Regions from separate parts of the Homo sapiens genome. Here regions 1, 2, 3, 5, 6 and 7 are each linked to region 4. The links are contacts of gene promoters, found by promoter capture Hi-C in blood cells and fetal thymus (Javierre and others, 2016). All regions are on one chromosome and are shown on one strand. Each heading gives the region's core, a stretch centred on a gene start or on the middle of the fragment in contact. The rest is flanking DNA. Distances are from core to core; before and after follow the strand shown. Region 1 has its middle 35 kb from the start of LINC01151. Region 2 overlaps LINC01151 (long intergenic non-protein coding RNA 1151). Region 3 overlaps LOC107986904 (a long non-coding RNA gene). Region 4 holds the start of DERL1 (derlin 1). Region 5 overlaps ATAD2 (ATPase family AAA domain containing 2). Region 6 has its middle 43 kb from the start of ZHX2-AS1. Region 7 overlaps LOC107986904 (a long non-coding RNA gene).

Region 1 (3,056 bases), core at 368-2,867, 380 kb after region 4:
TGTGACCTTATTTGGAAATAAGTCTTTACAGATGTAATTAAGGATCTTGAAATAAAATCATTCTGAATTTAGGGTGGGTCCTGTATCAAATGAGTAATGTCTTTATGAAAAAAAAAAAGAGGGGGAGATTTGAGGCACAGAGACAAATCATTCTGAATGTAGGGTGGTTCCTGTATCCAAGCAGTAGTGTCTTTATGAAAAAAAAAAAAAAAGAGAGAGAGACAGAGGGAGATTTGAGGCACAGAGACACAGGGAAGAAGGCCATGTGGAGATGGAGGCAGACATTGGAGTGGTGCTGCCACAGCCGGGGAAGGCCAGGAGCTATCCAAAGATGGAAGTGACCAGGAAGGATTCTTCTCCAGGGCCTTTGGAGGAACAGTGGTACTAGCAACACCTTGATTTTGGACTTCTAGCCTCCAGAACTGTGAAAGAATACATTTCTGCTGTTTTCAGCCATGTAGTTTGTGGTAATTTGTTATGACAGCCGTGGGAAAAGAATCCAGCAGAGAAGATGTGGGGCCTGAAATAACTGCTGGGTCAGCAGAGGCCTGGCTTAGTACTGATTGTACAGAGACATCTCAGCTGGAGGAAAGGGCAAGAACCACACTTTTCAGCAGCAGGTGCCAGCTTATTGCCCCAAAGGGTGGGGAGGCACTCATTGTGCCAGAGAAGATACCTGTGCTGGGTCCCGGAGACCCGCCCAGCTCAGCTGCCTCCTAGGGAAGATTTGCCTTCCATGAAGGAGGTCTTACATATGAGGTCTCGTCTCTAGCTACTGCAAGATAAAAGCTTTCTTTTGCACCCAGGCATGAAAAAACCCTGAAAAACTGAGCGTTTGCTTCTCAGCGACTCAGCTTGAAAGAGGCTGTTTTAAACTGGAAGAGGTTGAGAGGCCTTCAGTTGGTGAGTTTATTATTTTCCCTTGCTCCTCTGTGAAATGAAGCTCATGAAGAAGCGTAGGTCAGGTACAGAATATAAAAGAATGACCTTTTCTTTTTCCTGGACAATTTAAGTGCACTGTCATCTCACAACCTCAAACTCTTTAATATGGTAATGAGAGGCAAAAGGCATTTTAATTTGGAGCTATGTCGCAGTTTTCCAGCATGTGAAGAAAGCATCCTCAGTTGCCAAAAGGTCACGTGTGGGATTAGTTGCTAGGCTGTGGGATTATTTTTCTAGGCTTGCTGGGGAAAAGGGCAAAAGAGAAGAAGCAAACTAGCAGAGTCATGTGGCGTTTCTGTCCTGGGACTTACGCAAATTATGCAATTGTCCTTTGCATTCAAATCTGTTCCTCTTCCACCTGATATTTTGCTGAGGGGACAAGTGAAATTCCAAAGCTCAGTTTGCTGAAGTGTGCAAAATGCTAATCAGCTTCCACAGCCCACAAAGTGGCAGAGAGGGCGTGCCTCTCTGGAGAAGAGAGGAGAGACTGGACTAGGAGCTGGGAGGAGTCTGGCTGACTCAGCGGCCCCAGACAAACGCACTTCCATCCTTTCCCATTTCCGTTGTGAACTCTTCTCCGTGGGCAAGAAGAGGACTCAGAACAACTGCTATCTTTTTACAAAGAAGGATGATGTGCAAGGGGGTCATTTACAAGAGGATCAAGGGTTTGGCTATGTTGGGAGATGCTGATTTTGATAAATGTTTCCATATCTCTACAAATGTGCCTTTCTGAGTCTCCAGTTAGACTTGAAAAAGACTTTGGAGATTGTCCCCTGCACAGTGGCTCTGAGCCTGGACACCTAGGAGATGCTCAGTAAATATCTGTTAAATAAATGAAGGAATGGATATAGTCCAAACTACTTGGTCATGCATCCAGTTTGTGGCAGATTTGGGTCTCTAAGGCCCAGTACACTAATCACTCAGCTGGGAGTTTTTATTCTGTTCCATCTTGCTGCTAGGACAACTGTAGCCACCCAGAAGGATGTCTCAACGCTCTGGAAAGTTCTCTGGCTGAATGTTGCTATGATACAATCTTTTAACAAGCTGATTGCTCAGTAGCAAGAGCAAGTGCTATTTATGTTGGGTAAATAAGAAGAAATGCTGCCCTACTGATATTTGTTAAGTGCCCCTTTAATATTTGTGAGGAGGCGATCTTGACAAAATTTTGAGAGTGTATACACTGGCAAATTTTACCTTTTATGGACTGTAATATCCTATTGCTACTTGATTTAAAAATCTTTCCCTCTCTTCACATATATCCATATGAAAAAAAACAGCAGAGAGAGATATATGTATATTATATGGGAGATATCTATCTATCATCTATCTATCTCCCACTTATGACCTGAAAGCCCCGTCTTTGAGATGTTCTGCCTTTCCAGCCTAAATCAATGTATACCTTACATGTATTGATTTATGTCTTTGCCTGTAACTTCTGTTTTCCTAAAATGTATAAAACTAAACTGTAATTCAGTCACCTTGGGTACACTTTCTCAAGCTTTCTTGAGACTGTTTCCCAGGCCATGGTCAGAATAAACCTCCTTCAATATTTTACAGAGGTTTTTTTTTTTTTTTTTTTTTTTTTTTTTGGTTATCAGCATTCATCCACCAAGGAGGTCACCAGAAGCTTTGGTGGACAGTTTTCATCCAGGCCAAGGGAATTCTAACTCAGGCATCTTTGTCTCGCTGCCTGAGAGTGTTCTCTGGTGGAAACATCATGCTCAGCCCATGTATTGGGATTGGGGAAGAGATCTGAAGTGCCAGGGAGTTAACTCCTGGGAGAAATCTTCAAACAAAGAAAGCAGGCAATTGGTGGATAAATACCCCAGTTTCTTTACCCCTGATGAAAACTTTCTGAGGTGTATTCTATAGAGGCTTTTGGGGGATACCCAGGAAGCTTGAGCCCCAGTTGCCCACAGCTATAGTCCATTTATTAATGCACCTTTGTGTAGCTGAGGACTGGGCCACCTGCTTGTGTGGCTTATTTATGCCCTCTGACCCTGTCAGTGCCTGATTATGGATGTGCTGCCTCCATGTGGCAGTGGATTGCTGCAGGGTTGCCTTGGCTTATGACTTCTTGGGTGTGGTAGAACCCAGCTCATGATGGGAATCCA
Region 2 (3,158 bases), core at 535-3,034, 360 kb after region 4:
CTCCGCTGGTGGTGTTCCAGCCATCTGGGGTTGACAGATGACTCACCTCATGGGTTCCTTCATGGGTAATTTGCAGCAACCGCCTCTTATCTGCCTTTGCCTGACTGGGAGCATGCATCTCTTCTGACCGTTCCTCCACTGCTTCTCCCTCACCCCCTAGCATCTGGCGCCGCACCTCCCAGGCCAGTTCTGCTCCATGGGAAACTCACACATGCTTTGCCCTGACAGACTCGGGAAAAGCAAGTCTCCCTCAACGCGATCACCTCGTCTCACTCCACCTTCGGCGCAACTGGCCTGCCGCCATCTCTCGCCCTTTAAATTTCTCAGGGTGAGCCAGACATCAATCGATGGAGTCTCCCGTGATCCAGGGAACATGCTGCAAGCCTTCCAGGAGGTCTCATGGAAGCCCCTTCACCTAGGCTTGAGGTGGTTAGAAACAGCCTCTCCCCAGAAGGGTGGGGAGTGTAAGGATTGGCAGCTATCTCCCCAAATTCTTGTCTAATCCCAGCCCAGCTCCAAATTCTTTTTTTTTTTTTTTTTTTTTTCAGAAGGAGTGTCGCTCTGTCACCGGGTCTGGAGTGCAGTGGTGCGATCTCGGCTCCCTGCAAGCTCCGCCTCCCGGGTTCACGCCATTCTCCTGCCTCAGCCTCCCGAGTAGCTGGGACGACAGACACCCGCCACCACGCCCGGCTAATTTTTTTGTAATTTTTTTTTTAGTAGAGACAGGGTTTCACTGTGTTAGCCAGGATGGTCTCGATCTCCTGACCTTGTGATCCACCCGCCTGGGCCTCCCAAAGTGCTGGGATTACAGGTGTGAGCCACCGCGCCCGGCCTCCAAATTCTTTAAAGTTCGGGTGGTGGATAGATTGGGGCCCTAAAACCCGTTTCTGACTACCTCCTGTGTAAGTCTTTGTGGTCTTTCACTTTTCCTTAGAAATGGGGTGCAGTCACTCTTGGTGTCTTGGAGCCTCGGCTGATACTAAAACAGAACCTGTTTTAACACACTGTTTTGCACAAACACAGAATAAAGAGGCAGACGGTATGCCTGTCAGTCTTGCAGAGGCCTCCGGGAAAGAGAAGATGGGGAACTGGATAGCATGATTTCCAGGGTTCCTTCCAACCCAGAGATTGCACGGCAGGCTGGCAGGGAATAAGAGAAAGCATTGGACCTATTCCCTGACTGTGCTATTAGAGAGACAAGACACGCACTAAGCACCCTGGTAGCAGATCATCACAAATGCTCTTGATGGTAATATAAATGCAACAACAATAAGTATGAACAGTCAAGCCTTGAACCGTTTGGAATGAGCTTTATGTCTCAGAGAATAGGGAGGAGTCAACTCACTGTTGTAGAAAGTTGCTGAGAGGAGGTAGACGTCAACTAAACTTGGTGTTCTGAGAACACGCCTTTAAACCTCCTTGGCCTCTCCTCCTGGGCACTTCGCACTTGTTTGTTCTCCCAAATGCCTCCTTGCCAGGAAATCAGTCCCAGTCCCTGTAGTTGGAGGTAAAGTTGTCATCTACTTTTTGCCATTGCACTTTATCTACACTACTTTTGTGCATCTTGTCTTATAATTGAGTGGAAGCCTCAGAAGGACAAGGGCTTCTTTCTTTACTCACAGTGATATTTCCTTTCTGGGCCCGGCACATGGGGACACACACATACACGCACACACACACAAACACGCACATGCACACACACATGCAAACACACACACATGCATATGCACACATGCCCACACGCACACACATGCACACACACGCACACACATGCACACACATGCACATGAGCACGTTGATATTATTCTTTTGTCCACGGCACTGAGTTAGCGGTTGGCTGAGTCAGGGTTGGAGCTGGGTTTCTGGGTTTCCACTGCACAGCTCTTTCTACCTCCTACCCTGGACTCTCCACTCTCTGGCTTCCCAGGTCTCTGGGCACCAGGAGGCTGGAAAGCACTTTGCTGGATATTCCAATTCTGTTGGCATTTGTGACTGAGGACATGTGCCCAAATTCATCCTGTGTGTTTCCAACTCAGAGCCTTCTGGAACAGAGGTGCTCCCCAGAGGTGGGGAAAATGCAGCCGGAGGAGATGGGTCACAGAAAGCTACACACCCGGCGCTGGTCATGCTGAGCAGAGCAGGCCCTCACGTCCCAGTGGCTCTCCCTTCTGTGTACATTTAATGAGCTTTTGGCTGCATTTCAAGGAGACCTGGCCTTGGGCACGGGGCATGGAAATGAACTTCTGAGTGAGCTCTCTAGGAGAAAAATAAAGGCCTGGCCTTGGGCCTGATTGGAGCCCCATGACTCTGCCAATGCTACGTAGAGAAAAAGGCAGTTGTGTTGAGTTACCGCATTTTAAAATAGAGGCTGTAAACCCTCTCATTTTATGGGTGGAAACCAAGGCTCAGAGAGGGGTTCTGATGCCCAGGTTTATGCATCTGGCTTAGCAGTAGATTCAGTCACCACTAGACTCTGCAGAGCCACTACAGAGGCCAGCTGGAGAGAGGTCTGAATCCCTGCCAATCTTGTTCAGTGCCACCTCAACTTTGGAGAACTCCCGGCCTTCTCTGGTGAATTATAATAGCTGCTTCTGCACATCCTGCCTCTGCATGTATCCCTCTGTGAGCCATGTGTCCCTGGAGAGCCTGCACCATGTGTTTATCATCCCTGGATTACCAAGAGAGGGCCCATTGTGGGCCCACAGGGATCCCAGGGTGGGTGGGGCACTGACTGGCACCAGGGCTGGCTTTTCCAAGGAAGTCAGGCCCAGCTCTTCCTGCCAATGCGCCTCCTTTCTCTCTCCTTTCATCTCCCGAGCCTCAGAAAGCTGAGCAGTTTCTGTTGAGGATACCATCCTGTTCATTCTAGGAGGGCAGCCTGCCAGAAGCAGCAAAATTTCTGGCCCATTTCCCAATGCAAAGGACAACTGGGAAATGGCCTAGAACAGTGCCGTCCAATAGAAATGTAATGTAAACTATACATTAATTAAACATTTTCTAGTAGCCACATTAAACAAAGAAAAAAGACACTGGTGAAATTGAGTTTAATAATATATTCTATTTAAGCTAAGATATCTAAAACGTCATTTCTGCATGTAATCAATATAAATAATTATGAATGAGATACTTTGCATTTTTTGATATTGAGTGTTCAAAAT
Region 3 (3,049 bases), core at 219-2,718, 340 kb after region 4:
AGAGAGACATAGGCAGTCACACCCATTGTAGAACTGATCACTTAGGCCAAGTTATTAATTTTGTACTGGAGGAAACTGAAGTCCAGAGAGGTCAACTGACTTATTCAAGCCTATGGAGCTCTTAAATAGAAAACTAAGTCCAAAGATCCTATTTTTTGGCCTCACATTTTCTTTCTTTCTACTGGTCCACATGACTTCATCCCAGCCCATCAGCCCTGGAGGCTGGGCTAAGGACAGCCCCACTATTTGAGCCTGCTCTTCCTTCCTATCAGGAGCAAACCATCATGAAAATCAGCCCCATTAAACTCTGATTGTCTGTGTCTGGGCCATGTGTTTCCCTTGTCAAGGGGTTGAAATGCTTTGATTTAAGGGTAGGCAGGATACTTCTTTTAATGTTTTTAGTTAGGACTTGGTCAGCAAACAGGAACAAACCTGATCAAATGTGGCATAAGCAAACTGCAAACTCGGCTCATGTAACAAGACCAAGGCAGCCCTGGCTGCAGGCATAGCAAGATTCAGGGCTCACATGATGCAATCACGTGTCTCTCCTTTCTGCTTGCTTTGCAATCTGTTGACTCCAGTCTCAGACTCCATTTGGTAGCGAGATGGCAGCTTCAGTTTGTGAATTCTCTGGTGCAGCAGGAAAGAGGTAGCCTGTTTCTCAATAACATAAACGAAAGTCATGGAATTAATTAATGCAAAAATATTTATTGAGGTCCTAGTATGCACCAGACATTCTTCTACATGCTCGGGATACTGAAGTGGACAGAGAGAAGAGGTTCCTGTCATCATGGAGCTTACTTGAGTCTTCTTGGGCTCTGACATGACTGTTTTTGGCCATGTGTAATCTGTGAGCCAATCACTGTAGCCACGAGTACGCGATGTGCTGGGTCATGTGCCCCACTTAAAGAATGCAAGCCTCAGGCCAGGCGTGGTGGCTCACGCCTGTAATCCCAGCATTTTGGGAAGCCGAGGTAGGCGGATTGCCTGAGGTCAGGAGTTTGAGACCAGACTGGCCAACATGGTGAAACCCTGTCTCTACTAAAAATACAAACATTAGCCAGGCATGGTGCTGGGTGCCTGTGATCCCAGCTACTCAGGAGGCTGAGGCAGAAGAATCGCTTGAATCCAGGAGGCGGATGTTGCAGTGAACCAAGACGATGCCACTGCGCTTCAGCCTGGGCATTCTTTCAAAAACAGAATGCAGGTCTCTTTTTGAGTGCCAGGACTATGTCATAGTTATGTTTGTGATGTGTCCACAAAGCATAACCCAAGGGCTGTCCATAATAAGCACATGAGAAGTGACATCAAACGAGTGAACAACTGAGTAAATAAACCACAGAGAGAGAAAGTTCATGAAAGGCAAATGTGTAAAAACACACGAAAAGGGGACAAATCCAAGTAAATCGAACAACGAAATGCTAGCTCTCAGTTGCCAATCCAAAAAGAGACATAATATTCACTATAGATGTCTTGCTAAAAATATTTGCCCAGTGTGTTTCATATCAGGCCAAGAAAATCCTGCTCATTATTCAGAGAAACATTAGACACAAAATCTGAAGTTGCAGTTCATTTCAGAGTTGTCCCTGGGGGGTGTCAACAAACCGGGGTCACTCTGGACCTCACACTTTGAGGAGCAAGTGAAAGAAGAAATGAAGACAGCTCACAGCTGGCAGCTAAAATATGTCGATGTCATTATGTAAATATCTGCCACCCACAGCCCTCCATGGTCTCTCTTGCAGCCTGCTGTGGGCACCTGGGAAACACTTCTCCCTGTTGTCTGGTGTTCTTGGACATAGCCTCTTAGTTCCTTTGATGTTCTGCCCTTGATGTTCATTTTATGCAGCTTTCAACTGGTAAAAAAGTTTAAGGCAAGGAAAAAGTCTGGAAGAAAATTTATAGCTCCTAAATTGTTAACATGTAAAAGAGCCATTCGTTGGTCCTAAATCCTAAAAGCGTGGCTCTGTATATCTTGTATAAAACCTATGTGGGTTGGCACTTGGAGGGATGTATGCAATTTTAGTCATTACACTGCTTAAGGAAGGACCTATAAAGGACACGTAGAAAGAGGCAAACTAAATTATTAAGAGGAACCTACATTTGAGCATGAGCTCAAAGGAGGTGGACTCCAGCATGGAGAGACCAAAGCTCTAAGAAGAAATAAGTACATGCTATGAATTCATGAAGGGCATAGAAAAGATGCCTGTAAACAAACTTATTCACCAAATTTCAATAGAATCAAATAAGAGGGGCAACCATGGGGTTTCAAAAGGGTCAAAATTGTACAAATATTAAGTGTAAGTGGCTTTAAACGATGGTGGCAAACATGAAATTTAAACTAATTTTTATGTTTTAGAGACACAGTCTTGGACTTAATAAAAAGAGCTTTAAAAGGTATATTGGGGACAATTGGTAAAATTTACAGGTAAGTCACATATTAAATGGCACCATTTAACCGAATAAATGTTAGCTTTCTTAGGTATGATGGTGGTGTGCTTATTTAGGAGAATGTCCATATTCATTCAAGATGCACGGTGAAATGTTGGGGGAAACATGGCTGGATTTTGCAGCTGACTTTCAAATGAATTAGAAAAAACATCTATAAATATATGAGAGAATGACAGAGCAATTGTAGCACAATACAGTCATGTGCTGCATAATGACATTTCAGTTAACAATGGATTGCCTATCTCGACGGTGGTCTCATAAGATTATAATGGAGCAGAAAAGTTTCTATTGTCCAGTATTATGCTATGCTATGCTATGCTATGCTATGCTATGCTATGCTATGCTATGCTATACCATACCATACTATACTATACTATACTTTATTTATTTATTTATTTTTTGGAGACAAAATTTCGCTCTTGTTGCCCAGGCACGATTCTGGCTCACTGCAACCTTCAACTCCCCGGTTCAAGCGATTCTTCTGCCTCAGCTTCCAGAGTAGCTGAGATTATAGGCGTGCACCACCACACCCAGCTAATTTTTGTGTTTTTAGTAGAGACGGGGTTTCACCATGTTGGCCAGGCTTGTCTCGTTTATCTAT
Region 4 (3,354 bases), core at 518-3,017:
AGAATAAACCTCAGGCAATATCGTCAAGTATTATCTGTTATTTATATAAATATCTAGCTTTTATATCAAAATTATCTTTTTGTAAGGCTGTATCAATTTATATTCCCACCAGCTGTGTTCTTCGTAGATTTGCTATCCATTGGTTCCCAAATGTTGTATACTCTCATTACACTGTGGAATATTTAATGCCTTTTTGTTATGAAAAAACTGTTTTTATTAATTAACATCAAGGATATGGTGCTGACAAATATTCTCTAAAATTATGGAATGTTGGAAACTCTGCTGTCTGACATCCTTTCCGTGTGAATGGAACATCCCATTCTTGTCCAGAGCATCTGAGCCATACAGGTCACTTTGACACAGGATTTTCAATACAGGTACAAAGCTTTAGATAGAGTTTTCAGACCCAACGTTTCACATTTGTCGTAATTTTGAGATTTCCAAGGAAAGAGCCTGCTTCCTACTCAGGTCTGATGTTAACCTGATGCTGCACACAGCTCTGCTTTGCTTCGAGTCTATCAAACACTGCTCCAGTTAATTCTTACCAAAAAATCCCCCCATTCCCATAACCCAATAATGACACTTCCGTTTGATGAGAGGCATTGAGGTTCCTCTGGAGTGCAGTCTCCCTTGCTGCAGCAAGTTAATAAATCTAACTTTGTTGACTACAGGTTTGTTCCTGGTGCTCTTTATTGGAAGACTTTAGCAATCTTAAACTGCTGGCCCCAAATCCCAAAACAACGGGAAACTCTACTCAGTATCTTTTCTTTTTTTCTTTTTTTTGAGATGGAGTCTGGCTCTTGTCCCCCAGGCTGGAGTGCAATGGTGCAATCTCGGCTCGCTGTAACCTCCACCTCCCGGGTTCAAGCGATTCTCCTGCCTCAGCCTCCCAAGTAGCTGGGACTACAGGCGCCCTCCACCATGCCCGGCTAATTTTTGTATTTTTAGTAGAGACGGGGTTTCATCATGTTGGCCAGGCTGGTCTCGAACTCCTGACCTCGTGATCCGCCCGCCTCGGCCTCCCAAAGTGCTGGGATTACAGGCGTGAGCCACCGCGCCTGGCCAGTATCTTTTCTTAAAGATTCCTTCTTATACAAGTTGAATTAGACAAGATGGATCATTTTGGCTTTTAGTTCCTCCAACATTCCAACCTAGTTAGAGCGGCTTTTCTCTGTGCATGGAAAATTCTTCCCCCAGATCTCTTGCCTGGCTGGCCCAGTTCATACCTAAGGTAGCCATCTGTCCTCACACTGCCGCACCCCCACCCCGTCACTCCACCTCATCATCTCATTTCATTTTCCTATTTTTCTAATCACTCTCTGAGATTATCTTACTTCATTATCTATTTGTTTATAAATTATCCCAATGAGGATGTTAAGATCAGGAGAGAGGGTACCACGACAGCGCTGACAGCCGCAGCTGCCCAGTGTCTAGAACTGTGCCCAACAAACACTTGTGGAATGAGTAAGCAGACGAGGAACTAGACACTTCGTTTGCCTTCGTCCCCTTTAAATACCCTCCAGGTGGACCCAGCCGCATTAAAACTCTGAGAACTAGGTGAATGGCATTTGGCCTCGCCACTGGCCGGAGCGTTTGCCGTTGATCCAGGCAACCACTGTTTTCCCACCAGTCGTGTAGTCGCTCTACCTGGCTCCGCCCCCCAGGACGCCGAGCCTCGGCCGGGCGGTAAAATCGGCGCTTACCCTTTAAGCGGCGGGACTTCTGGTCACGTCGTCCGCGGTCGCCGGAAGGGGAAGTTTCGCCTCAGAAGGCTGCCTCGCTGGTCCGAATTCGGTGGCGCCACGTCCGCCCGTCTCCGCCTTCTGCATCGCGGCTTCGGCGGCTTCCACCTAGACACCTAACAGTCGCGGAGCCGGCCGCGTCGTGAGGGGGTCGGCACGGGGAGTCGGGCGGTCTTGTGCATCTTGGCTACCTGTGGGTCGAAGATGTCGGACATCGGAGACTGGTTCAGGAGCATCCCGGCGATCACGCGCTATTGGTTCGCCGCCACCGTCGCCGTGCCCTTGGTCGGCAAACTCGGCCTCATCAGCCCGGCCTACCTCTTCCTCTGGCCCGAAGCCTTCCTTTATCGCTTTCAGGTACTTACCGGAGACGGGGGGCGTGGAGACTACAGGCCCCAGGAGGCCCAGCGGCGGCTAAGCGTAGGCTGGCATGTTGCGGGCGCGCGGTGCCTGCTGGGATTTGTAGTGGGTCCGGCGCCGGCGGTTTAGGGCGGGGTCCTTTGGGCCCGGGGAGGCTCTGGGATCTGGAGCGGGGTGCTGGATAGCTGGAGTTGTGGGCTGGCCTGGTGGGGAGGGGTTGACTTCACTGGTATAGTGAGATTGTGCTTCCCGCTCTTCGCACTCAGTGAAGGAAGCAGTGAGATTAGTCGTTGGTAGTTGTCAATCTGTTGGACGCTGGCGATTAGGTCCGCCTGGAGCATTGCCCTCTGACCTCCCTCTGTCACCCACGTGGGTGGCCTGTAGGTGTCAACTTCACCAACTTATAGCTGAGTTCCTTTCACGTTTATGGAGTTTTTTTGTTTTGGTTTTCCTATAGGAGTGATTTAAAGTCAGAGATACAAAGAACGAGTGTATTGTTCTGCATTTCCCTCTAGACCTAATTTAGTGTCCCCCACGTAGTAATAGAATGTACGAAGGAATGGGCAAAGAGTACATTTGTCCAGAAATGGAAGGCCTTGTTATTTTCTTAAGCATGAAGGAAACAGTCCAGAGTAACATTTCTGTCAAGAGAGTGCCAGTTTTCTGAAGGTTATCTGTATTCACCAATTTCTGATTTAAAACTTCAATCAGTGGCAGGTCAGATAGCAAGATCTGGCATTAATTTCAGCCCTTTACTTGGCCTATGGATAACATTTTCTTGTCTTTCCCTGTCTTCACTGGGTGTTACTTCTTGGTTTCCTTTGCTGGTTCCTTATCTTCCTGACTTTTAAATGTTAGGATGTGCCTTGGGAATCAGTTATAGGACCTTTTCTATAGACTCTCCCTAGCTTTAGGTGGTCTCATTCATTCAGCCTCAGGGCTTTACATACTTTCTATAAACTGGAGATTCTGAAATATAAATATAAATATCTTCAGTCCAGATCTGTCTCCCTATTTCCAGATTTGTGCATCCAGCAGTTACTTGAAATCACGACTTGGATGACTAAGAGTCATCTTCATCTTAACGTGTCCAAAACTGAATCCCCTTTCCCCCTTTGCCTTAGAAGTGAATAGCAACTCCGTTATTAGAGGAGCTGAAGTTAATTGTCGGAGTCATCTTTTATTTTTCTTGTTTTTCTCACACCCCACAATCTGTCAGCAAATCCTATTGACTCTACTTGAGACATATATC
Region 5 (3,252 bases), core at 9-2,508, 340 kb before region 4:
CAGGAGGCAGAGGTTGCAGTGAGCTGAGATCGTGCTGCTACACTCACTGCACCCCAGCCTGGGCGACAGAGCAAGACTCCGTCTCAAAATAATAAAATAAAATAAGATAAAATACATAATCAGTAGCCAGGCGTGGTGGCACATGCCTGTAGCCCCAGCTACTACCGGGGAGGCTGAGGCAGGAGGATCTCTTGAGCTCAGGAAGTTGAGGCTGCAGTGAGCCATGATTGTGCCACTGTACTCCAGCCTGGGTGAAGGAGCAAGATCCTATCTCTAAAAATAAATAAAGAAGGTAGTGATCAGTTCTGTAGAATTCAGTGAGGTAGAGAAAAGGCTATTGGATGTAGCTATTGGGAGACAGTTGTGAATGTACTGAAAGAGCTGTGGAGGTAGAAACTAAGTTGGAGTTTACCGAGTAGATGGTGAAGTGGTTTAAACTCATGTTTAAAGACAAAACTAAGGAAGGATATCACAACTATAGTGATATAACATGTATATCATGTATTAGAATATACTGTTGTTTAAGTTTTCAGGGAGCCCTAAATTTGTGTTGAGTACATCCTATTTCAACCTCATTTGTTGATATTTGAATTGACTCAAACAACTGACCTCCCCCCCAAACATGCTTTTTAAAAAATGAATTTAAAGCTTGAATAAGCTTGGTCTTCTGTGAAAAATAACATAGAATATTTTTATTATGCAACTGTGTATACTTTAGGAAAACTTTTTTGTTATTTTATTGCTGCTTTTTCTCTATGTTAACTTACTGATTCTGCAAGGTTGTGAGAAACTTAAAATTTAACAAAATACTAACATTTCCTCTCTTAAAACTTCACTTTTAAAGAACTATAAGTGCTCTCAATATTTAAGTAGATTTTAGCCAAAGAATAAATGAGAATATTACATCTCTAGGTTAAAATTTCAGACTAAGTTTGTTTTCTCTTTGTTTTTTAGTTTTTAGGAATTTTTTTCTGGTAATACATGTGAAAATGTGAAAAATAGAAAGTGAAAGTCCCCATCTCTGTCATCCAATGTTAATTACTGTTAACAGTGTTGAACTTACCTCTTGGGAATTAGATGACTTCGGTTTAATACCTGTGCTAGTCTTCCTTAGGAAAGAAGATATACACAAGATAATTCATCTAGAGATATTTATAACATCAGAAAAAATTGCAGGCAACCTAAATATAATACATTCAGCAATTTGTTAAATAGATTCATGTAATGGCTGAAATACTATTCATTCATTAAATTTTTAGAGTAATATTTAATGACATGAAAAAATATTGATATTACTAGAAAAAACTTATAAAACATATAGTATTATCTCAGTTTTAAAATCATGTAAATATGTTTGCATAGGAAAAAAATGGTTTTTGCACCAAGAGATTAAAAGAGGTTGTCTGTGAGTGGCTGAAATTAAGGGTGACATTTTCATTTTTCCAGTAATAATGGGCATGTATTGCCTTTATTTTTATATTGCTTTTGTTAGAACTGTTTTTGAAAGATGCATTTAAAAATTTTTTAGTGTATACTCTATATAGAGGACTCCCACATAATTTTTTTTTTTTTTTGCCCACATTGTTGAGTCTTTCTTGCTGCCTAGTACTTATTTGGAGAGAATGACAAGCCGTTCACTATGCACATCAAAGATTCTCTTATACCACTTATAAGATTGTCTTCCAAGTTTCTTAGGAAATGTTTTTTCCTAGTATTGTCCCCATCCACCCCTTTTCTTGTTTTGTAAGGAAACAAAATCTTTTTTTATCCTCAGGAATATGGTAGCATTTATTTTCTTTTTTAATGTACCAAAATATACATAACATAAAATTGACCGTTTTAACCGTTTTTAAGCTTACAGTTCATTAAGTACATTCACATTGTTCTGCAACCATCATCACCATTCATCTCCAGAACTTTTTCATCTTCCAGAATTGAAACTCTGTACCCATTAAACACTTACTCCCAGTTCCTCTCTCCTCCTAGTCCCTGGCAACCACTGTTCTACTTTCTGTCTCTGAATGTGACTGTTCTCTGAATCTCATATTCCTAGACTAATCATATTTGTCTTTTATGACTTGCTTATTTCACTTAGCATATCTTCAGAGTTCATCCATATTGTAGCATGTGTTAAAATTTCCTTTTTTAAACAAGAAGGAATAATATTCCATTGTATGTACCATGTTTTGTTTGTCCGTTCATCTGTCAGTGGACACTTGGGTTGCTTCCCCTTTTGGGAATTGAATAATGCTGCTGTGAACATGAGTACAAATATTTGTGCAAGTCCCTGCATTCGCTTCTTTGAGTGTATACCCAAAAGTGGAATTGCTGGATCATATAGAAATTTTGTGTTTAACTTTTTGAGGAATTGCCTTACTATTTTATGTTACCACCAGCAACACACAAGGATTCCAGTTTCTCTACATCCTCACCAACAATTGCTATTTTCTCCTTTTTTTTTTTTTTTGTGAGTAGCCATCCTAATGTGTGTGAAGTGTTATCTCTGTGGTTTTGATTTGCGTTTCTCTAATGACTAGTGATGTTGAGCATCTTTTCATGTGTTTATTGGCTATTTGTCTATCTTTGGAGAAATCTCTATTCACATCTTTTGCTTATTTTTTAATTGGTTTGCTTGTTTTGCAAAGGAGTTCTTTAAATATTCTGGAGATATATATATGTATGCGTGTATATATGTGTGTGTGTGTATGTATATATAAAACCTTATATACCTTATCAGTATATGATTTGCAGATTTTTTTCGTATTCTGTAGGTTGCCTTTTCACTCTGTTGATAGTGTTCTTTATGCATAAAAGGTACTCATTTTGATGAGGTCTAACTTACATATTTTTATTTTGTTGTCTGTGCTTTTGGTGTCATCCAAGAAATCATTGCCAAATCCAATGCTGTTTTCTCCTAAGAGTTCCTAAATTGTTTTTTAGTTCTTTATTCTCTCATACAGTTTTAAGTTATCATCTCAACTTCCCCCTCATTTATTTCTTTCAAAGGATGTAATTTCTGTCATCTTTTGATGTTGACATTAAAAAGAATAAAACTATTATGTCAGACTTTACCTGTATCCACTGCAGTCTAAAAACCAGTTGATATGTTTTGAAACATTTAAAAATAATAACATGAGCAAACTCTTAGCAAAGTTTACCTTGATTCTTTTTTTTCTCTCTTTTAATTTGCATTTTCAGTCCACTTAACCCACTGCATTTTATGGTGATGTGAAATTTTTTTCTATACAAGCC
Region 6 (3,104 bases), core at 194-2,693, 300 kb after region 4:
TTCCTCAAGGACAAGGTCTATGTTCACTTTGTTCCCTGATCCCAAGTTTCTAGAGGTGCCTGGCAATAGCATATGCTCAATAATTATTTGTTGGACTAACCATAGTGCTTGTCTTTCTCTTCTTGGCTGACTTTAATGGCAATTTGCAATTAGTCTCCCTGATACAAAATGTTAAGAGTGGTGTAAATATGACAAAGACATGGTGATAGTGATAATTTTAAACTCAGGGCCACAGTCAAATTGCTAAGGAAGAACTTGAGAGCCTGCTCATCCATTCTTAAACATTTAACAAATCACCTCTCTGAAAACATCCGTCTAAGCTTCAGCATTCTAGACAGCTCCTCTGTCCAATAGAAATATAATACAAGGACACACACATACTTTTAAATGTTCTAGTAGCTACATTAAATGAGTAAAAATAAACAGGTGAAATTAATTTTAATAATCCATTTCATTGAATCCATCATAGCCAAATATTATCATTTCAACGTATAATCACTGTAAACATAATTAACGAGTTTTTACATTCTTTTTTTTTCTCCCTAAGTCTTTGAAATCCAGTGTGTATTTTACGCTTCCAGCACATCTCGATTTGGACTCACCACACTCTAAGTGCTGGGCAGTCACAGAAACCAGTGGCGTCCATACTGGACAGGGCAGTTCTGGAGGGGAAGACATGGCCTTTTTCTTCTAGCGGCTTCTATGTGAGCCAGTGGCAGGAGCACGTGGTAAGTTCAGGAGCAGAGGTGGGAACTGGGTACCAAGAGAAGACCAAGGCAGATGGGATTAGTTCTGTCTGAAGGGAGAGAAATTGGCAAAGATGTGAAAAATCAGGTGTTTATTTTAACATCATTTACTATCTGGTGACAAATTGAAGGGCTCATGAATGGAAAAGAACTTGGGGTAACTATGGTTCAACCTCCTTGTTTTATAGGTAGGGATGCTGAGATACAGAAAGGGGAAAAATCAGGTTTCTGTATCTGAAAACATCCGTCTAGGCTTCAGCATTCTAGACAGCTCTGTCCAATAGAAATACAATACAAGGACACACACATACTTTTAAATGTTCTAGTAGCTACATTAAATGAGTAAAAATAAACAGGTGAAATTAATTTTAATAATTCATTTCATTGAATGAAATGAATCCCCTTTCAGATACAGAAAGGGGAAAAATACAGAAAGGGGAGGTGGACTAGCTCAGGGTCACACAGCAAGTCAATTTCCTTCTCTGTAAAATGACAAAGCCCCTGTTCCACCCTCTCTTCAGAATTCTTGTTGGAACAAATGGGATTATAAACAGGATGTGTCTTGCATGGAAGAAAGTCTTTTTCTTCCATGCTAAAGTACATGTTAGCGCATGGCTAAAAATGTAATTTCCAAAGGGACTCTTTCTGAGGGGGTGTGGGCCTCAAGTTTCCCCATGTGTCACATGCTTCAGGGCTAAAGAGGCCTTGCTGAAGTCTATGCACTGCCACAAGCTGTGTGTGTTGTGGGTTCACGTCTTTGCTGGTCCCAGTGCCTCCTCCGTATAGAAAGCCCGAGTGCAGAGTCTCCTGGGAGGGGAAGGAAGTGGGTTTGAAGACAGGGAGATTAGGGTTTGCATGATTAGGCTCAGCCACTAATTGCCTGAATGATGTTGGGCCAATCCCTCACTCTCTTTAAGCCTCAGTTTTCTTATCTGTAAAATGGGAGTAACCACAAGGCATGTGCCAGGTTCTTGTTGTGAAGGCTCATAAAGGTAGCTCATGGGAGATGCTCACAAACATTTTTATTCCACCACCCCTTCCAGCCCCAGCTTTTGATATGGCCATTCACCCATTGCACCCTCCAGTGTGCCTGGCACCAGGCTGAGTGATTTGTAACACTACCCCTGAAAATTCTCATACAATCACTTCTGTTAGGTGATTGAGAGGTGTAGGTGGAAGACATGGGAGATTGGCGAGAACCACGTGAAAATCTGCCTTTTCCAAATCAGCCCAGGTGTGACCTCTCACAATTTTCCCTCCTCAATCATTTCCCTCCATGGCAACTGGCAGGGTAGGCAGGGGCTTGTGGGCCCCACATATTCCATTTTTTCCATTCCAGTTTCCTGCTGAAACTTCTTGTGCAGGAATTGCCCCAAGAGACAACAGGAGCCAAACTACCTTATGGAGTAGTGGCAGGAATTCACAGGGTGTCACACTCACCTGACGAGATTTCAGAGGGCGCCCTGGCCACGCCTCTTGGCACTCTGTCAAATCAACTTTCTCCTTATTTCTATTCATTGCAGAAATGTGAAAATTCAAAGCTAGAGTAAAATAAACAATGATAATACAGCCAAGATTGTTAAGAATAATATCTGTATATTTCTACATGTAGATGGAGATTTAAAACATGGTGTTGGATTATACTCACTTGTGAAAGTTGCTTTATTTCTATATAATGTATGACTATCACCTTTCTTTTGGTCCATAAATATTCATTTGAAAGTTATTTAACAGCTGAGTGGAATTCTCTATTATGACTATACCCTATTACTGGACGATGAGTTCAGGACTGAGGTTTTATTGTTAGAAAGCAAAGCTTTCATGCAAGTCCCTGTCAGCTCAGCCTTTGTGCATGGGCTTAATTCTTTCTTCAACTTAAATTCCTGCATTGAAATAGATGAATAAAAAGTTACACAATAAAAACTCTTAAATAAGAAAATTGTACTTAAAAAAGTATAAAAAAAGTAGGCATGCATGATTTCTATAGTGACAGTCCCCTTACTCTCTCTGCCTCTCCAAGCCATCCCTGGAGCACTGGTAACATTCTGTTGGGTATCCCTTCAAAACTTTTCTAGATTCAGCCAAGCATCCTTGTACACAAACCCCACGTGCCTTACACACACACGTAAATATTGCTTCAAGCTTTTGATGTGTAATGTCAGGTTCTGTTCCATAAAGATCTTTCTTCCCTTTAAATCTCCACTTGTTTCTGTCTTGTGACCCTGCTGCAGAGCCTTCATGCCAGCTGCTATGGGATTTTTGGCACGTCCATCCTTTTGGAGCTGTCTGAGGCCAGGCAGATAAGGTTTGGATTGTGAAGTCTCTGCATTGTGGTGTATGTTGGGAGCAAAGCTCATT
Region 7 (3,057 bases), core at 254-2,753, 330 kb after region 4:
AGGGAATTCAGCCACAAGAGAATCCAGCTGTAGCATGCATCATTAGTGGAATTTCTTGCCTGAAAATGGTGAGAGGCTTTCCTCTGAAGAGAAGGTTCTAGAAACACTGTTTCTTGTTTTGTTTTTCCCTACCCCAACCTCTTTTCTTGACTCTTCTTCTCCCAAATCCTACTCCTTTCTATGCTCAGACTCTTCTTTCTTTCATAGTTTTCCCAGACATTGCTGGGAATGGATTCTACATTCAGTTACATGGAGGTATAGATTCTAACTAACTAGCAGGTTAGCATTTGGATGACGAGTAGGTTTCCTCTCCTTGGCCAGATGTGGTCAACTGCTGTGGCTACTGAAATCCTGAGTTGAGAAGGTTTAGTTTAGAAGATGAACTTCACCTAAAAGAGTATTGTGATTGATTAGTGATGTCTGTTCTGGGTATGAGTGAGGTACAATTATTTGTGTAAGCTTCTATCAGCTCTGTCAAGGTGGAAAGCCAACACTGTTCTTATAGCTGTGATTTTAATGAATGAACTTGGGATTTGGTCCCAGGAGATGCTAGTTTAGGTCCCACCTCTTCTCTTTCTATGTAAATCTTGGATATTCTTGGATGTGTCACTTATTTTTTCTCAGTCTTAGTAAAACTTGAATTAAAATAATCCTCCTTATGGAGTGATTGTAAATATTGTAAGACTGATGCAGCTTCATTCATTCAATCATTCATCCAGAAAATATTTCTTGAGCACCTACTATGTGCCAGGCAAGGTGTGACCTGCTGGGAGTACAGTGAGGGGTAATATGGATGTGGTCTCACCCTCAGAGAGCATGCATCTAGTGGGGGAATGTGTTAGTTTTCTATTGCTGCATCACAAATGACCACAAACTTAGAGGCTTAAAACAACATACTCTATTGTCTCACAGTTTCTCTGAGGCAGGAGTCTGGGTCTGGCTTAGCTGGCTTCTCTGTTCAGGATCTTATAGGGTTGTAGTCAGGGTATCACTGAGCTGAGTTCTCAACTAGAAGCTTGCCTGGGGAAAAAGTCTGCTTCCATGTTCATTTAGGCTGTTAGTAGAATTGACTTTCCTACCATAGTATGTCTGCAGGTCCCAGCTTCTGGATAGCTGTTGGCTGGATTCCACCCTCAGGTCCTGGAGACCACCCACAGAAACAAAGAGGCCTCCTGCAGTTCCTTGCCACATGGGCTTCTCCAACCTGACCACTTACTTCAATCAGCCAGCAAGGAGGGTCTCTTGCTCCAGTTTCCTGAAATGGAGTCAAACATATCATAATACTGGGGATGACATTCCATCACCTTATTGGTTAGAATCAAGACACAGGTCCTCTCCACCCTCCAGGGGGGAATATATCAAGGAACGAAGAGTAGGGGGCAAAAATTACTGGGGGTTACCTTAGAGTTTCTCCACTGCAGAGGTGGACACATAAGCAAGAATAACAACAGTGTGTTAATTGCTATGGCAAGGGAGCTCCAGGGTGTAAGAAAGTGCATACTGGGGCACGTGAACAGTCTCAGGGTTGTCAGGGAGGACTTCCTGGAAGAAGTGACTTTTAACTGACACCCAAAGGTTGAGTAGGATTAGCTATATCATAATGTAGTATCCAGATATTAGGTTTTGTTGTTGTTATTTTTTATCACCTAGAATGGAAACTATTTATTAGTTAAGGTCTTTCCAGCCCAGAATACAGTAGGACTCATTCGATACTTGCTCTGAAGACTCTTCTGTTAATGCATCCCCAAAGAAAAGCAGCTCATGTTCTCAGCTTTGGGGTGACATGGAGATAAGTACTAGGGCTGGAAGGGTGATAGTAGGTCAAGAATGGAATTCTAGGGATGTCTCTGTCCAGACAGCATCAATTCCCTCCAATGTTCCCATGTAAGGGAGAGAGACCAATGGTGGCTGTAGGACATTATGCAGGAGAAACCACCATCTGCTCCAGATTGGGCCGATGGGTGATGAATCTACGGCCCAGCCAAAGCTTTTCCCATGGCACATGCACCTGTTTAGAAATAATGAGAGCAATCATAATTGTCACCAAAAGTCATGTTCTAATATATTAAGGAATTTTAATAGGAATTACTTGCTGTTAGTAGGAATAGTACATCCTGTTTTTGAGCACTTGCTGTGTGACAGGCACTGGCTAAACCTGATGTGCTTGAGTTGGATAATCTATCTCAAAACAGAGCTTTCTCCATATCTTCCAACAGCACCAAATGAAATGCCAGTGAAAAGGCTGTCTTCCTTTTTTCTTGCTATTAAAATTCTCCTCATCCTGAATGCTCCATCTCCAGTCTCACTTCTTCCAAGAAACCTGTCATGACCACTGTGTGGTCATGATACATATCATCCGTATCATCAAGTTCATCACCAAATTAACTTCTGTCTTCCAGCACTTGCTAAAGAGGATGACTGCATTTTGACGATCCCTTCCCTCTGTTCCTTCCTATCTGTGCTTCCACTTTATGATCTCTATCCCAACTAGTCTGACAACATGAAGCCTGGTCTCTCTGCCAGCAGCCATCCCGTCCCACTGCTCAGCCCTGGGTGGTGCGGACAGATTGGAATTCCTAAAGTTCAGCCCTGATTGTGCCACTTTACAGCTCAGAAACTTCCAGTACCAAATCTTTAATCCACCAGTTTCACTTCTCCCAATGTGCCCTCCAGACCTACTTGCTCATGTGTGAAATGATGACTGGAGTACTTGTTGAGTGCTGTGTTGCTTACAATAGCAAAAAGTCTGAAGCAGCCTGCGTATCCATCAATGGTGTCTTGATGGACAATAAGTTATGGTGGATCTAAAACTGGTTTTCAAGCCTGGCTGCACATTCAGGTCACCTGGGTGTGGTACATTAAGGTGATTACAAATTTTCCTCCTATTCAGAAGTGGAGTCTAATTTCCTTTCCCTCAAATCTGGGCTTGCTTAGGGATTTGCTTGACTAACAGAATGTGGTTGAAGAGATGGTCTGGGACCTCCAAGGCTAAGGCATAAGAAGCTTTGTAGCTTCTGCACTGGCCTCTTGAAACTTTAGCTCTGGGGTGAGTCAGCT

The links. The method cuts DNA at HindIII sites, captures the fragments that hold promoters and counts their contacts. A CHiCAGO score of 5 or more calls a contact.
Region 1: a contact is called between a fragment that was not itself captured here and the fragment with the promoter of DERL1 in region 4, in 4 of 17 cell types (M2 macrophages, M0 macrophages, M1 macrophages and 1 more). The highest score is 18.0, in M2 macrophages.
Region 2: a contact is called between a fragment that was not itself captured here and the fragment with the promoter of DERL1 in region 4, in 11 of 17 cell types (M0 macrophages, M2 macrophages, M1 macrophages and 8 more). The highest score is 15.3, in M0 macrophages.
Region 3: a contact is called between a fragment that was not itself captured here and the fragment with the promoter of DERL1 in region 4, in 3 of 17 cell types (M1 macrophages, M0 macrophages and M2 macrophages). The highest score is 6.8, in M1 macrophages.
Region 5: a fragment that was not itself captured here is called in contact with the fragment with the promoter of DERL1 in region 4 in 1 of 17 cell types (monocytes); the score reaches 5.5 in monocytes.
Region 6: a fragment that was not itself captured here is called in contact with the fragment with the promoter of DERL1 in region 4 in 17 of 17 cell types (total B cells, M2 macrophages, naive B cells and 14 more); the score reaches 12.6 in total B cells.
Region 7: a fragment that was not itself captured here is called in contact with the fragment with the promoter of DERL1 in region 4 in 10 of 17 cell types (M2 macrophages, total B cells, M0 macrophages and 7 more); the score reaches 12.9 in M2 macrophages.

Annotation. Positions count from the first base shown.
Region 1 is chr8:122,657,630-122,660,685 of GRCh38, reverse strand. No RefSeq gene overlaps it. Among named protein-coding and RNA genes, the nearest start is that of LINC01151, 35 kb to the left of the region's middle. The HindIII fragment of the contact is 1,651 bases long and covers 792-2,442 here.
Region 2 is chr8:122,680,418-122,683,575 of GRCh38, reverse strand. The region is part of intron 2 of LINC01151 (long intergenic non-protein coding RNA 1151); the gene reads left to right. Among named protein-coding and RNA genes, the nearest start is that of LINC01151, 12 kb to the left of the region's middle. The HindIII fragment of the contact is 4,320 bases long and covers 1-3,158 here.
Region 3 is chr8:122,697,104-122,700,152 of GRCh38, reverse strand. LOC107986904 (a long non-coding RNA gene) reads left to right here. Exons shown (of 3, transcript XR_001745738.3): 3 at 1-320. Among named protein-coding and RNA genes, the nearest start is that of LINC01151, 4.5 kb to the right of the region's middle. The HindIII fragment of the contact is 5,531 bases long and covers 1-3,049 here.
Region 4 is chr8:123,040,715-123,044,068 of GRCh38, reverse strand. DERL1 (derlin 1) reads left to right here and starts at 1,767. Exons shown (of 8, transcript NM_024295.6): 1 at 1,767-2,099. The coding sequence starts at 1,947. RefSeq lists an enhancer at 1,818-2,357. The HindIII fragment of the contact is 6,787 bases long and covers 388-3,354 here.
Region 5 is chr8:123,385,236-123,388,487 of GRCh38, reverse strand. All of the region lies in intron 1 of ATAD2 (ATPase family AAA domain containing 2), which reads left to right. Among named protein-coding and RNA genes, the nearest start is that of ATAD2, 9.6 kb to the left of the region's middle. The HindIII fragment of the contact is 1,196 bases long and covers 661-1,856 here.
Region 6 is chr8:122,736,599-122,739,702 of GRCh38, reverse strand. No RefSeq gene overlaps it. Among named protein-coding and RNA genes, the nearest start is that of ZHX2-AS1, 43 kb to the left of the region's middle. The HindIII fragment of the contact is 2,242 bases long and covers 323-2,564 here.
Region 7 is chr8:122,713,970-122,717,026 of GRCh38, reverse strand. The region is part of intron 1 of LOC107986904 (a long non-coding RNA gene); the gene reads left to right. Among named protein-coding and RNA genes, the nearest start is that of LINC01151, 21 kb to the right of the region's middle. The HindIII fragment of the contact is 972 bases long and covers 1,018-1,989 here.